Linked DNA regions of Homo sapiens: region 1 is linked to region 2. Evidence: promoter capture Hi-C in human tissues and cell types (Jung and others, 2019). All regions are on one chromosome and are shown on one strand. The core of a region is centred on a gene start or on the middle of the fragment in contact, and the rest is flanking DNA. Distances in the headings are between cores, read along the strand shown.

Region 1 (6,211 bases), core at 2,474-4,973, 140 kb after region 2:
GAGCCAAAAGATTGAGGCTGCAGTGAGCCATGATTGCACCATTGCAATCCAGCCTGGGAGATGGAGTGAGATCCATCTCTTAAAAGAAAAAAAAAGGTCTGAGGGTAGTGTTGCCACCATGACCACCCCCCGGCCTTTCTCCAAAGAACACTTTTATTCACAATATTCCAGGCATGTGATTAACACCACTGCCTTATTTCATTATTTAAATATTCCACCCATGGATGTTTTTTCTCCTAACTAGAGCAGACTGTAATTTCTCAGGGGTCAGGGGCTTATTTTGCAAGACTGCATCTCTAATGCTATAGAAATAAAAGAAATGCAAAAGTTATCACTTGAATGTACTGAATAAATAAATGGGAAAATCTGAAGATATCATGTTGATTTTTTGAAAGGATAAAACACTGGGGAAGGGGACTTATGCTCTTTTGATATCAATGCTATGTGGAATACATCATGCTAAGGAATCAAGGCAAAACCACAGAGTAGGCTAAGAGAAACAAGACCTAGACTGAGCAGCGAGCTCAAGTGTTTCATTTATTATGGGACAGGAATCTCATTCCTGCTCTTTCCAACTCCACCTTATTAGGTACCTTTTAAGATCATTTTCTGTTTCCTTGTTTCTCTTTTAGAACCATGCTCAGCACCTCCCTAAGAAGAGGGGCCACCTGTGTGGAATGGTTCCTGAAGCTGGCAGTGGTGGGGGTGTGAATAAGCCAGTTGTTCTGGCGGGGGCTTGTGAAGCTTAAAAATGAAGAATTGAGAAGAACTGAAAAGGTATCGTTTAGAGTTGGATTATCATGAGTGACTAAACATGTACACAATAAACACAGAATTAGGAAAATTCTTAAAATTTTAAAACTGAAAAACTAGCAATTTTCTAGTATTAGGAATGCAAAATCTAAGACAGAGGCATTTCATCCTAATATTCTCCAATATATGTACAAAAGGCCAAATTCCCTAAACAAGTCCATAGGGAGTTCCTGGAATTTAACATGGGGGTTAAGGTTTTAGTATTTCCTCCACAAGCTGAAGAGTGATGGTTCCTTTCTCTGTCTCTTTCTAAACTCAGGAAAGCTATGCAAATCCCTTATGTAGACAAAGCTTTTAGTAGATCTGGCAAATGAGATCTGTTCTTAAGAAACAGCACTTGGCAAAGTAACTGCTATTTTGTACACATCTGTTTTACATCTGTTCAAACCTAAATTCCTTCAGAGGAGGGGCAATGTCATCCTAGCTCAAAATAGGCATTAATAAATCTTATGCTAAATCACCAACATCTTTTGGTAAAATAGCTGTGTTTAATTAATGAAAGACTTCCAGATTAACTTCTGATGAGGTCTTCTAGGTATCTTCAGAGTGTTTTATGATGTTTTCTCTCCCTAGTTATTGTTAATATATTCTGTGACCTTTCCACAACAGAAAGTCATTTTAACATGTGGCTCACGTAGTTTCTGAATTTTTCTTTCTTTTTAAAGGATCATGCTGCTGCTTTTTGGGATGATTACTGATGTTTATAGTGAGCCCCATCCCCCACTTTTTAAACTCCATAAATATTTAAGACAAATAACCCTAAATATTTGTCCATGATAGAGATCCTGGGTCCCCTCCTTTGATTGGTGCATGCTTTGTTTAACATTTTGCCAGTGCTTCCCAGTAGCAAACAATCAATGCACATTTTGAACTTGTATTCTTAAAAAATCTGCAGCCACAAACATGGCCCATGTCCTAAATAGTAGGTACTGCTGAATAGATCTTCAATGTTTATTTTTGTCCGGCCTGCAAATATTTTATATTATTTTGCCATGAAGAAAGCTGCCTGAGACTATGTCGGCAGTTTCCTGTAACGTAGATGCCTTGTCAATAATGTAAGTATGGTGCAGAGTGAACAAATCCATAAATCTCGAAGTCACAAATAACTTGCTCATCTGGGGCTGAGCTGCCTGAGTCTCCATGGATACCAAGGGAGCATCTTCAATTCAGGGAACTCTCAGGGAGAGCAGACTCTTTCTTGCCCCAGGAATCTGCAAGCCTGGCAAAAAGAAGTGAGGGTCCTTGAGAACATTACCTTTGTGGATCCTGTTCATTAACCCACTAGAGACTAAGTCCCAGGTCCCCTTTGGTTTTCTCCCACTCCCTTTAAGAGAAAATCTCCTGGAGAGGGTCAGGGGGCACAGGTAGCATGAGGGCTAATTGGGATTTCTGAGACTGTTTGAACATTTTTCCTTCAAAGCTTTGATGGGAATTCCAGCATCATAAGTGAGTATATTTTTCTATTTTATGGTTATATTTTTAGAGACAGGGTTTCTCTAAGGGGAAGCTGAATATTTAGGCACTGAGACAGCCCTGGAAGTAGAAAATGGGCATATTATAAGCATAGCTATGCATCAATGTAAGTCAAAGTCCCCACAATATGCCTTGGAAGCAAAAAACATATGTCTCTGTAGGAAATTAGCCTATATACATTATAAGAGCAAAGCTATGGTTCCATATGTTCCATAACTGTAATTGTTCATCAAGATAGGAAAATAAAAACAAAGAAAAATAGAGTTCCTACCATTATTACCTCCTGCCAATTATCAGCTCCCAGAACACATTGTCTATACTCTTAACTTTGGTGGCAGATCATTCTGCTTAGCAGTTACCAACTCTTAGTTCTGTGTTGCAGATCTTAGCTGCAATGCACCCAAAGAAACTATGAAATGTAGCCTTGTTGTCTTATCCTTTTTCTTATGGTAGTTAATTTTATGACACCAAAGAATTCTTCCCTCAGTAAAATTATGCATCTGAGAAAACCAATGGTAATTCTTTCAAAACTTATCTTTTGATCTGCTCATTCAAGGACTTATTTCAGTATCTAAGATTTTTAAAGAATTTTTTTTCTGCGAAGGACATGAACAGACACTTCTCAAAAGAAGACATTTATGCAGCCAAAAAACACATGAAGAAATGCTCATCATCACTGGCCATCAGAGAAATGCAAATCAAAACCACTATGAGATATCATCTCACACCAGTTAGAATGGCAATCATTAAAAAGTCAGGAAACAACAGGTGCTGGAGAGGATGTGGAGAAACAGGAACACTTTTACACTGTTGGTGGGACTGTAAACTAGTTCAACCATTGTGGAAGTCAGTGTGGCGATTCCTCAGGGATCTAGAACTAGAAATACCATTTGACCCAGCCATCCCATTACTGGGTATATACCCAAAGGACTATAAATCATGCTGCTATAAAGACACATGCACACGTATGTTTATTGCGGCACTATTCACAATAGCAAAGACTTGGAACCAACCCAAATGTCCAACAATGATAGACTGGATTAAGAAAATGTGGCACATATACACCATGGAATACTATGCAGCCATAAAAAATGATGAGTTCATATCCTTTGTAGGGACATGGATGAAATTGGAAACCATCATTCTCAGTAAACTATCGCAAGAACAAAAAACCAAACACCGCATATTCTCACTCATAGGTGGGAATTGAACAATGAGATCACATGGACACAGGAAGGGGAATATCACACTCTGGGGACTGTGGTGGGGTCGGGGGAGGGGGGAGGGATAGCATTGGGAGATATACCTAATGCTAGATGACACATTAGTGGGTGCAGCGCACCAGCATGGCACATGTATACATATGTAACTAACCTGCACAATGTGCACATGTACCCTAAAACTTAGAGTATAATAAAAAAAAAAAAACAAAAAAACAAACAAACAAACAAAAAAAAATAATTTTTTTTCTTTAAAAAAGAAAGGAAGCACTTCCTTTTTCTAGTAGATGATTCTAGAATTACGGCTTATGCTAAAAATGTAAGAGAATGCCTGCACCACCGTGTGTAGGTCACACATCAGGTCGGGGATGTTTCATGAGCAAAGAAGCCATTATTATAATAATCAAAAGGCAGCAGACTTCCCCAGATAGCAATGTTGGCTGCTAGGATTAAACCTCCATCAAGATCACAAGTAAGGCATGACTAAGTAAAAACCTACTTGTATTTTCTATCATTGTATTTTGGGATTTGGACCAGGGCTGTAAGGATCCAGTGGTCATCTTTATTGCATGTATCAACACACAGCACAGGTCTCTTAAGAAGGATCCTCCAAGGATCAAGCACACACAATTGCACTTATGTGTTCAGTGGGGAGATTCTCAAGGCAGAGTAAACAAGAAATAGGTAAAGTTAGTTTGACTGAAGAGAATGTTCTACCTCCAGTACCCCTGCATACAATTAATATGAGAAAATTTCAAGACGCTGCAGGGATAAGATACCACTTAGAATGTGTGCATTGTCTTGGGTTCTGTTTTCCTCGGGCAGGCACTCTGGGGTTGCTGGGCATACGTTTTGAAACTCTGGCTTTAGAACGAATTGCTCAGGAAGCCTGATAGAAGTGACAATTCTCTGCCTACCCCTAGAAACTGTGATTGAGTAGATCTGGGGAGGGGCCTATGGATCTGCACTCCAACTACAGCCCAGGTGGGTGTTCAGACCATAGCTAGAAACTGGTTTGAGAAACTGGAGAAAGAATCTGGGCTTTGATGAGAGTGACAAGAGTTTTCCCTCCAGCCCTGCCATTTACTCCATGTGTGACCTCTGACATGGTTCCTAGACTGCTCTCTAATTCAGTTTCTTAGATATAAAAGAGTGATAATTGTAAAGGTTAAATAAAATATGTAAAGCTCTCTAAGATTCTTGGCACAAAGTTTACTAGTGTTTGAGCCCCTTCACCTTCTCTTCTATACAGTAACATTTTTTTTGAATGCTTATTATGGACCAGGTACTTTTCTAAGGATTATTGCATTACATTTAATCCCAGAGGTAGGTATTCTCTAAATTACCTCCATTTTACAGATGAGAACTAGAGGTACAGAGAGGTTGAGCTATTTGTCCAAAGTTACACAGATAGCAGGTGGCAGGGTTGGGCCTTGACCTAGCTTTACTACCAAGAACGTACATTATTGTCAGGGACATAAATTAGGGATGGGAAATTTCAATACCTCTCTCTGCTGTCTAACAAAGACCTACAGTTTACTTACAGTGCCTTTACTATCTGATCATGTTCCTTGATGCCCCACCAGATGAAGAGACCTACTACCACTCAGTATGGATGGACACATACAATTTTACCTGGCCCCAAAGGTGTTGTTCTATCATAGGGCTTGGATGCTAGGGATATACTATTCCTAAAATTAGGAACTGCCTTACTTGTAGGGGCATATTTAATTTTTCCAGATATTAGAGAGCCTTAGGTTCACTTAACAAAAAAAATGATGCACACATTTTTTTTTTTTGAGTTGTTCTTTCTCTTATGAGGTAAGCTGCAACTACAGTTTCATTTCTAGGAGTAATCAGGAGACCCATGATGAGAAATTTCAATCATCCCTGCTGAGACATGGCTAACTACTATTACATAAAGTTGATGGTACTGAGTAACATGTATGTATGCGTGCAGTCATGCATTTATGCTAGATAAAAGCACAGATGTGCATGCATGTCGAAGTACTGCTTTAGGTACAAATGTCTGACACATATGATATGCATATATGAACATGTTATAGGTTTATGTTCCTACATAGGTGCATGGGCACACTTGGTATACAGATGTGCACAGGCACACATACTTCCACATATGCATGCATGTATGTGCTTGTGTATGCAAGTATTTATGTATCCAACTACATATATTTTTATCTCAGTTTTTTAACAAGGAAGATATGCTTTTTAACCCATTGAGTTCATGCTTAAACTTTGATTTCTAAGTCCTATTTTCTAACTCCTATTTAAATAACAGTGGCAGTACTATTATGGGATTATTTTTCTTTTAAAAATTCATTCCACTGTTCTTGTTGCACAGCAGGAGTGTAAGTGCAGCCAATACTTTCTTGTGCTGACAGCCCTGATTAAGGCATAAGTCTTAATTTATAGAAATGAGTGATTTGTTTGACAAAAAAATTTTGATGGAACTCTGGTCTATAAATCTACTAATTGTTCCTCCCTGCTGCGAACATTAGATACGAGACAGTGTGTTAACTGTGCATGTTGTTGGCTCATAGGCACACGTATTGTTTCCCTGTATGATTTTACTAATGGTTTTTTTTTAAATGAGATCTAATAGGAACATTCAAAACATTGATCTTAGCACTGTGTGTGAAAGAAGTACTGCTGCCCTGAAACTGTCCATAAATTTGGGATTGCAA
Region 2 (6,085 bases), core at 835-3,334:
TGTTGTTGTCCTAGGCTTAAAGGACTACATGGGCCGGGTGAGGTGGCTCACGCCTTTAATCCCAGCACTTCGGGAGGCCAAAGTGGGCGGATTATTTGAGATCAGGAGTTCAAGACCAGCCTGGCCAACATGGTGAAACCCCATCTATTAAAAATACAAAAAAAATTAGCCGGGCGGGTTGGTGCATGCCTGTAGTCCCAGCTACTCAGGAGGCTGAGGCAGGAGAATCACTTGAACCCAGGAGAAGGAGGTTGCAGTGAGCCGAGATCACGCCACTGCACTCCAGCCTGGGCGACAAAGCAGGACTCTGTCTCAAAAAAAAAAAAAAAAAAAAAAAAAAAAAGGACAATGTGGGCTGATTCCAATATTAGATATGTAAATTACATATTAACATTTAGAGTTAGATAACTTCTACAAAATGACCTGGAAAATCCTGGTATCAGATCACTAGTAAGTATTTCCAGAATGGGGTCTGGAGCTCTGCAGATTTATCTTTTCTGGTAGAATCAAGATCCTTCAAACATACCAGTATACATTGTACCACATGACACCTGAATTTTAATCTTAAGAAAATTAGTTTATAAATATAATCATAAGTAAATACATATATCAAGAATCTTTATTTCATAGCACAGCATTTGAAAGCAACAATTTACCTATTGTGCAAACTCCAGGTGATATATGAGGTTGATATAAGCTCAACTCTGAGGAGGGTCAAAGTTCATCTCTTTTTTGCAGTCTCCTTTCTAGTGAAACCTCTACTATTTCTTCTGCTAACTTTTTCACTGTAAAAAGTATTCCAGTTCTGTTCATTCTAAATAACACAGAGATGGAGAAGGTCCAATTTCTCTAGTATGGTATGAGTTCGAGATTATTTCTAATATGGCACTACTTTGGATATGGGTCTGACTGATCTTATTATCCTGAATGATATGACATGGCTTCAGCAACAATTACAATAATACCTTGAAGGGAGGGGGTTTAGGGAAGAAGTGATTGAGCAAAAATAGTTAAAATGCAGTTATACAGCCAATTATTTTTACAACTAGAACCAGACAATTTGCTTTGCTTTATGTCTAATTAGGTGAAACAAAAAAATTCCTGTTTCCGTATTCATTCTCTTCGGTCATAACTCATATAGGAAATGACCACATCAGTTCCTTACTTATCGCTTCCCTGGAAACAAAAGAGCATTTTATACCTGATCCTGCTGTTGCCAGTAAAGAAAGTGGAGCAAAAATTAACCTTCTTCCATCCCTCTTTTCCATTTGGAAAACAATATTTTTAAGGGGGGGAGGGGAAGGGAATGATGCATTCAATATATAGGGGATAATACATTCCCTCCGCCCCAGACTCACTCTTTCCCATTCTCCTCAACATATCCACTTAAAGAGCGCTCAGTACGCTGAGGGCCCCAAGCCTGACAGAGTCAAAAAAAGAAGCATCTCTGCCCAACCTGAACATCACGACTCTCGATGCCTCGCATACAACGAGGCAGGGCGGGTCGCCCAGCCCCAGGGGACCGGGCGGCGTCTCCCGAGCCTGCAGCCCAGGCCGCGGGCGGCGCCGCAGCGCTCCCGGCTCCCCTCCTGCAGGGATCGGCCACGGTCCTTACCCGCCAGTCCGCCGCCGCCGCCTCCATCGCCGGCGTGGCCCTTCCTCCGCTGCAGGATGAAGTATGGGTTGGCCCTCTCGGTGATCCACAGCGCGTTGGCCAGCAACACCTCCTCCGGGTTCACCCACATGGTCCTGGCTGCCGCGGGCGGGCGCACAATGGGCCCGTGGGTCCAGTCCTGCACCCACCACCGCGACAGGCGCGCACTCCTGGGCACACGCGCGCCCGCCCGCCCGTCCGCTAGGTGCGGCGGCGGCGGCGGCAGGCGACTTCAGGGGGTGGCCCGCGGCGTCCGGGCCACAACAAAGCCCCAGCAGGCGGCCCGGGAGGACGGTGAGGACGCGGGCGCGGCAAGCAGCATCCTCCCCGCGGCGTCGCCGCCCCGCGAGAGCCCGCGGCCGCAGACGCCCGGCCTGGCACTCTGCAGCCCGGCTCCCGGCCCACGGCGGCGGGAGGAGCGGGAGGAGGAGGAAGAGGAGGAGGAAGGGAGCGGGAGGAGGAGGAAGTGGTATAGCTCAGTCCCGGGATCCGGCTCAGCGCCAGGCAGGGCTAAGGGCCACCCGAGCGGATTCGGCCCCGCGGTCAGGGCCAAGCTGGGCTCCGGCGCTGCTGCTCCCGCGGCGCCGACTGGAGCTCCAGAGCCCCTCCCGTCTCTACCTGCTCGAGCTCCCGAAGTCGCCGCGCCTTAACGCGCCGTGTCGGGGCCGCAGGCGCCACTAGGGAAGCCCAGCTCCCCGCTGGAAGGACGCTCCGGACACTGCGAATGAATGACGACAACGCGGCTCACTTGGAGCGGGTCCGGGTTTGTGCGGACTCGGTACCACCGCGGGCTCCGCGCGCCGAGCTGAGCAGCTGTGGCTGGCTTCGGGGGAACCTTCGGGGGAAGCTCCTGGGGACCGTGTGCCAAGCACTGGGCCCGACGCCCATCCCAGCAGGGAGGACGCCGCCAGCCTGCGTGGGTGCGTGTGTGCTGTTTGTGTTTAAGGTTGACGCTCTATGGGATAGCGCCACCCCTTTTCCCAGGAAAAGTGTTTCAAGGTTCCAGACCTGGAGCTCGGTTAGAGACCCGGGGTCGGAAGCCAACGCAGCCAATGGTCGTCGATGTTTTTGTTTCCTGCATCCCCAGGGCAAGTCATGCGCTAAACTTGTCACCGCTTGTGACCCCTCCCCCCTCTCCATTCCATTGTAATTAAAGTGGCCTAGCTAAGTGCATTACATCACTTCTTTCCTTGACCTGTAGGGCGTGAGCAATAGAGAAGTTGGAAGCGGCCCAAAAGCTTAGACCAACTAATTCACACCACAGCTGTTCCTATATCGCATTTGGGGCTTCGAAAACTGGGCATGGCAGAATTTTAAAATTTATCCACTCTTGGTAGATGGATTTTTTTTTTAATCAGTGAAACCAGAAACACACAAACCAGGGCAGCTTTATCCCTAGACAGTTTCAGTTTCCCCAAATACTTCGAGCTTCCAGTGGTGATCACAGCCCATCTGCCTACATATCTGATGACCATTTTTTTTTCCTCCCGCCCAGGAGATCTGGAGGATAGTTCAGCCAAAAAAAAAAAAAAAAAAAAAAAAAAAAAAGTTCCTCTTCCCAAATGATGGGAATTTAGCAGACTCTGCTTTGTTGTGGATGCTGGGCAATCCTAGGGACTTTTCCCTTTCCAAATGAGCAGAGATTCAAATGAAACCTTCTTGTGTGGGCTTCAAAATTGTGACTTTTGTAGCTCCGACTTGAATTGTTGAATTCCTTCAATTAGTCGAATGAGCAAATCACCAGCCATTCTAATGAGACTGCCATTTCATCTGTTCGCTTCCTACCGCTTGGGCTCTCAAGGAATGGAAGTTTCCCTTGATGTTACCACACAGACTGATCTGCTTCTTCCAGGCATCAGTGGAAACCTCATGTATTTAACACAGACTCAAAAAACTCATTTGGCACTTTTGGTCACAGTGCAGTGCCTTCAGTCACAAAATCTGCAAATAAAAAGCAAACAATAAGATTATAAGTCATACATATGCAAAAATTATATTAATATATCATGTAACTTTTATATTTTTGAAGTGTTTCCATAGGTATTCTTTTACTTGATATAATTGGTATTTTTAAAAACTCTAAGTGCCTTAATACCATGTTGGGGTTTGGAAAATGATACCACAAAGCATGGTGCTTTGGCATGCTGAGTACTTTGAACTAAAGGAGATTGAAAGGCCTCAGAAGCAGTTTCTCTCTGACCTCCTTCTGCCCTCCTGTCTCCCACCTCTCTTTCTCCCCCAAAGTGAGTCATGGAAACTAAAGGCAGGTCATAGAAACTAAAACCCCTCTTCCCAAAGGAAGCTACAAAACCTAGAAATATTACCATTCCTCACTCTTCTGTGTAAGAGCAGACATAAAGAATAGAGAAATAAAGAAATTATCTACCCTACCTTGTTGGATAGTAGGTCCCCTTTCCAAAGGAGTCCTGCTCTAAACCCAGGAGGAGGGAAAGCTATACGGAGAGGCCAAGAAGAATCTGAACAGACAGACTGGGTCTGTTCTCAGTCTATTACCATTGGATCTTACCCTTTTGTCCAACCACATCTACATGGCTGCCCACTCTTCATTGAACCTAAGCACAAAAATGGACAGAGCGAGACTCTCTCAAAAAAATAAACAGGCTGGGCATGGTGGCTCATGCCTGCAACCCCAGCATTTTGGTAGGCAGAGCCAGGAGGACCCCATCTGTATTAAACCAGAGAGACCCCATCTCTATTAAAAAAAAATAGACAGGTTTCCCTGGGTTTTTCCGTCTTCATTTCTGAAGGTTCCCATGTCACCTAAAACTTTGATTAAACAAATGTGTTGTGCTTTTCTCTTGTTAGCCTGTCTTTTGTTATAGGTGTGTTGGCTATGACCCTTATGGGAAGGAAAGATATCACACCTTTTCCCCTACAACAATCTTTTGTTTTTGTTTTGTTTGAGACAAAGTCTCGCTCTGTCACCTAGGCTGGAGTGCAGTGGCACGATCTCAGCTCACTGTAACCTTCACCTCCCAGTTCAAGTGATTCTCCCACCTCAGCCTCCTGAGTAGCTGGGACTACAGGTGTGAGCCACGACGCCCAGCTAATTGTTGTATTTTTAGGAGAGACGGGGTTTCACCACGTTGGCCAGGCTGGTCTTGAACTCCTGACCTCAAGTGATCCGCCCGCCTTGGGGCCTCCCAAAGTGCCAGAAGCCACCATGCCCGGCCTACAACAATCTTTTGGCTTGCCCTTGGCATGCTGCTTAAGGTTGTGGTTTCACACCAAAACCTATACCCTAGCCCCAAAATGTAAGTTACTTTGGCCTTTTTTATATACTGGTACCAAGTGCTATTTACTTATACAATTTATTCATTCATTCATTCATTCATTCACTTATTCAACATATAATTATTGAATGCCTACTATACTCTAGGCCTTGGAATAAAAAGTGAACAAGGCCAGGCGTGGTGGCTCAAGCCTGTAATCCTAGCACTTTCGGAGACCGAGGCAGGTGGATTGCCTGAGCTCAGGAGTTCGAGACCAGCCTGGACAACAAGGTGAAACCCCGTCTCTACTAAAATGCAAAAAATTAGCCAAACGTGGCACCATGCACCTGTAGTCTCAGCTACTCTGGAGGCTGAGGCAGGAGAATTGCTAGAACACGGGAGACGGAGGTTGCAAGGAGCTGAGATCACGCCACTGCACTCCAGCCTGGATGACAGAGTGAAAAAAAGTGAACAAAACATACAAAGTCCCTGCTTTTGTGAAGATTAAAATGTAACCAAAACAAGCTTATAAAAATTTGCTTTGAGAACAAGATTGGACACCAAGAGGAAAGAAGAAACATTTTAAAATCCTTAGCCATTTTCTAGTTTCTTGGAAGATTTAGAGCACATTCTCTCCAGGAAATCATGCCATTATTATCATGACTTGTGATAACCTGTAGTAAAAGGACATTGCAAAAAACTAGAGAAACTATAAGGAGTTTTGGTGGCTTTCCAGTCCCATAGTGCTACCTACTCAATTAAATGTGACTTTGAAAAAAAAAAAAAAGACAATCAAATATACCTAGACAAGAAATGACATAAGGAGAACCTAATTAATCTAACTAGTTCCTCTGTGAAATACATGACTATTTTTAGCTTTCAATTTATTCTCACTGGTTTTAAGCCCTAGGATAGTCTCAGACCACCTGAAGAGGAAAAGCATTCAACAGATGCCTAGATAAGGTAGAGGTAGATGATGTCTTTGTCTGCCTGCCTGCCTGCCTTCCTTCCTTCCTTCCTGCCCTCTGTCCCTCCCTCCCTCACTTCTCTCTTTCCTTCCTTCCTTCCTTCATTCCTTCCTTCCTTCCTTCTTTCTTTCTTTCTTTTGACAGAGTCTTGCTCTGTCACCCAGTCTAGAGTACAGTGGCACAATCTTGGCTCACTGCAACCTCCACCTCCCAGGTTCAAGCAATTCTCC

The links. The method cuts DNA at HindIII sites, captures the fragments that hold promoters and counts their contacts. A contact is called where the count stands out against the background at its distance.
Region 1: a fragment that was not itself captured here is called in contact with the fragment with the promoter of TBC1D9 in region 2 in 1 of the 25 tissues and cell types used here (liver).

Annotation. Positions count from the first base shown.
Region 1 is chr4:140,892,987-140,899,197 of GRCh38, forward strand. The region is part of intron 6 of RNF150 (ring finger protein 150); the gene reads right to left. Among named protein-coding and RNA genes, the nearest start is that of TBC1D9, 140 kb to the left of the region's middle. The HindIII fragment of the contact is 5,598 bases long and covers 925-6,211 here.
Region 2 is chr4:140,754,301-140,760,385 of GRCh38, forward strand. TBC1D9 (TBC1 domain family member 9) reads right to left here and starts at 2,085. Exons shown (of 21, transcript NM_015130.3): 1 at 1,616-2,085. The coding sequence starts at 1,745. RefSeq lists a silencer at 1,438-2,127 and enhancers at 1,783-2,425, 2,426-3,067, 2,558-2,607. The HindIII fragment of the contact is 15,545 bases long and covers 1-4,152 here.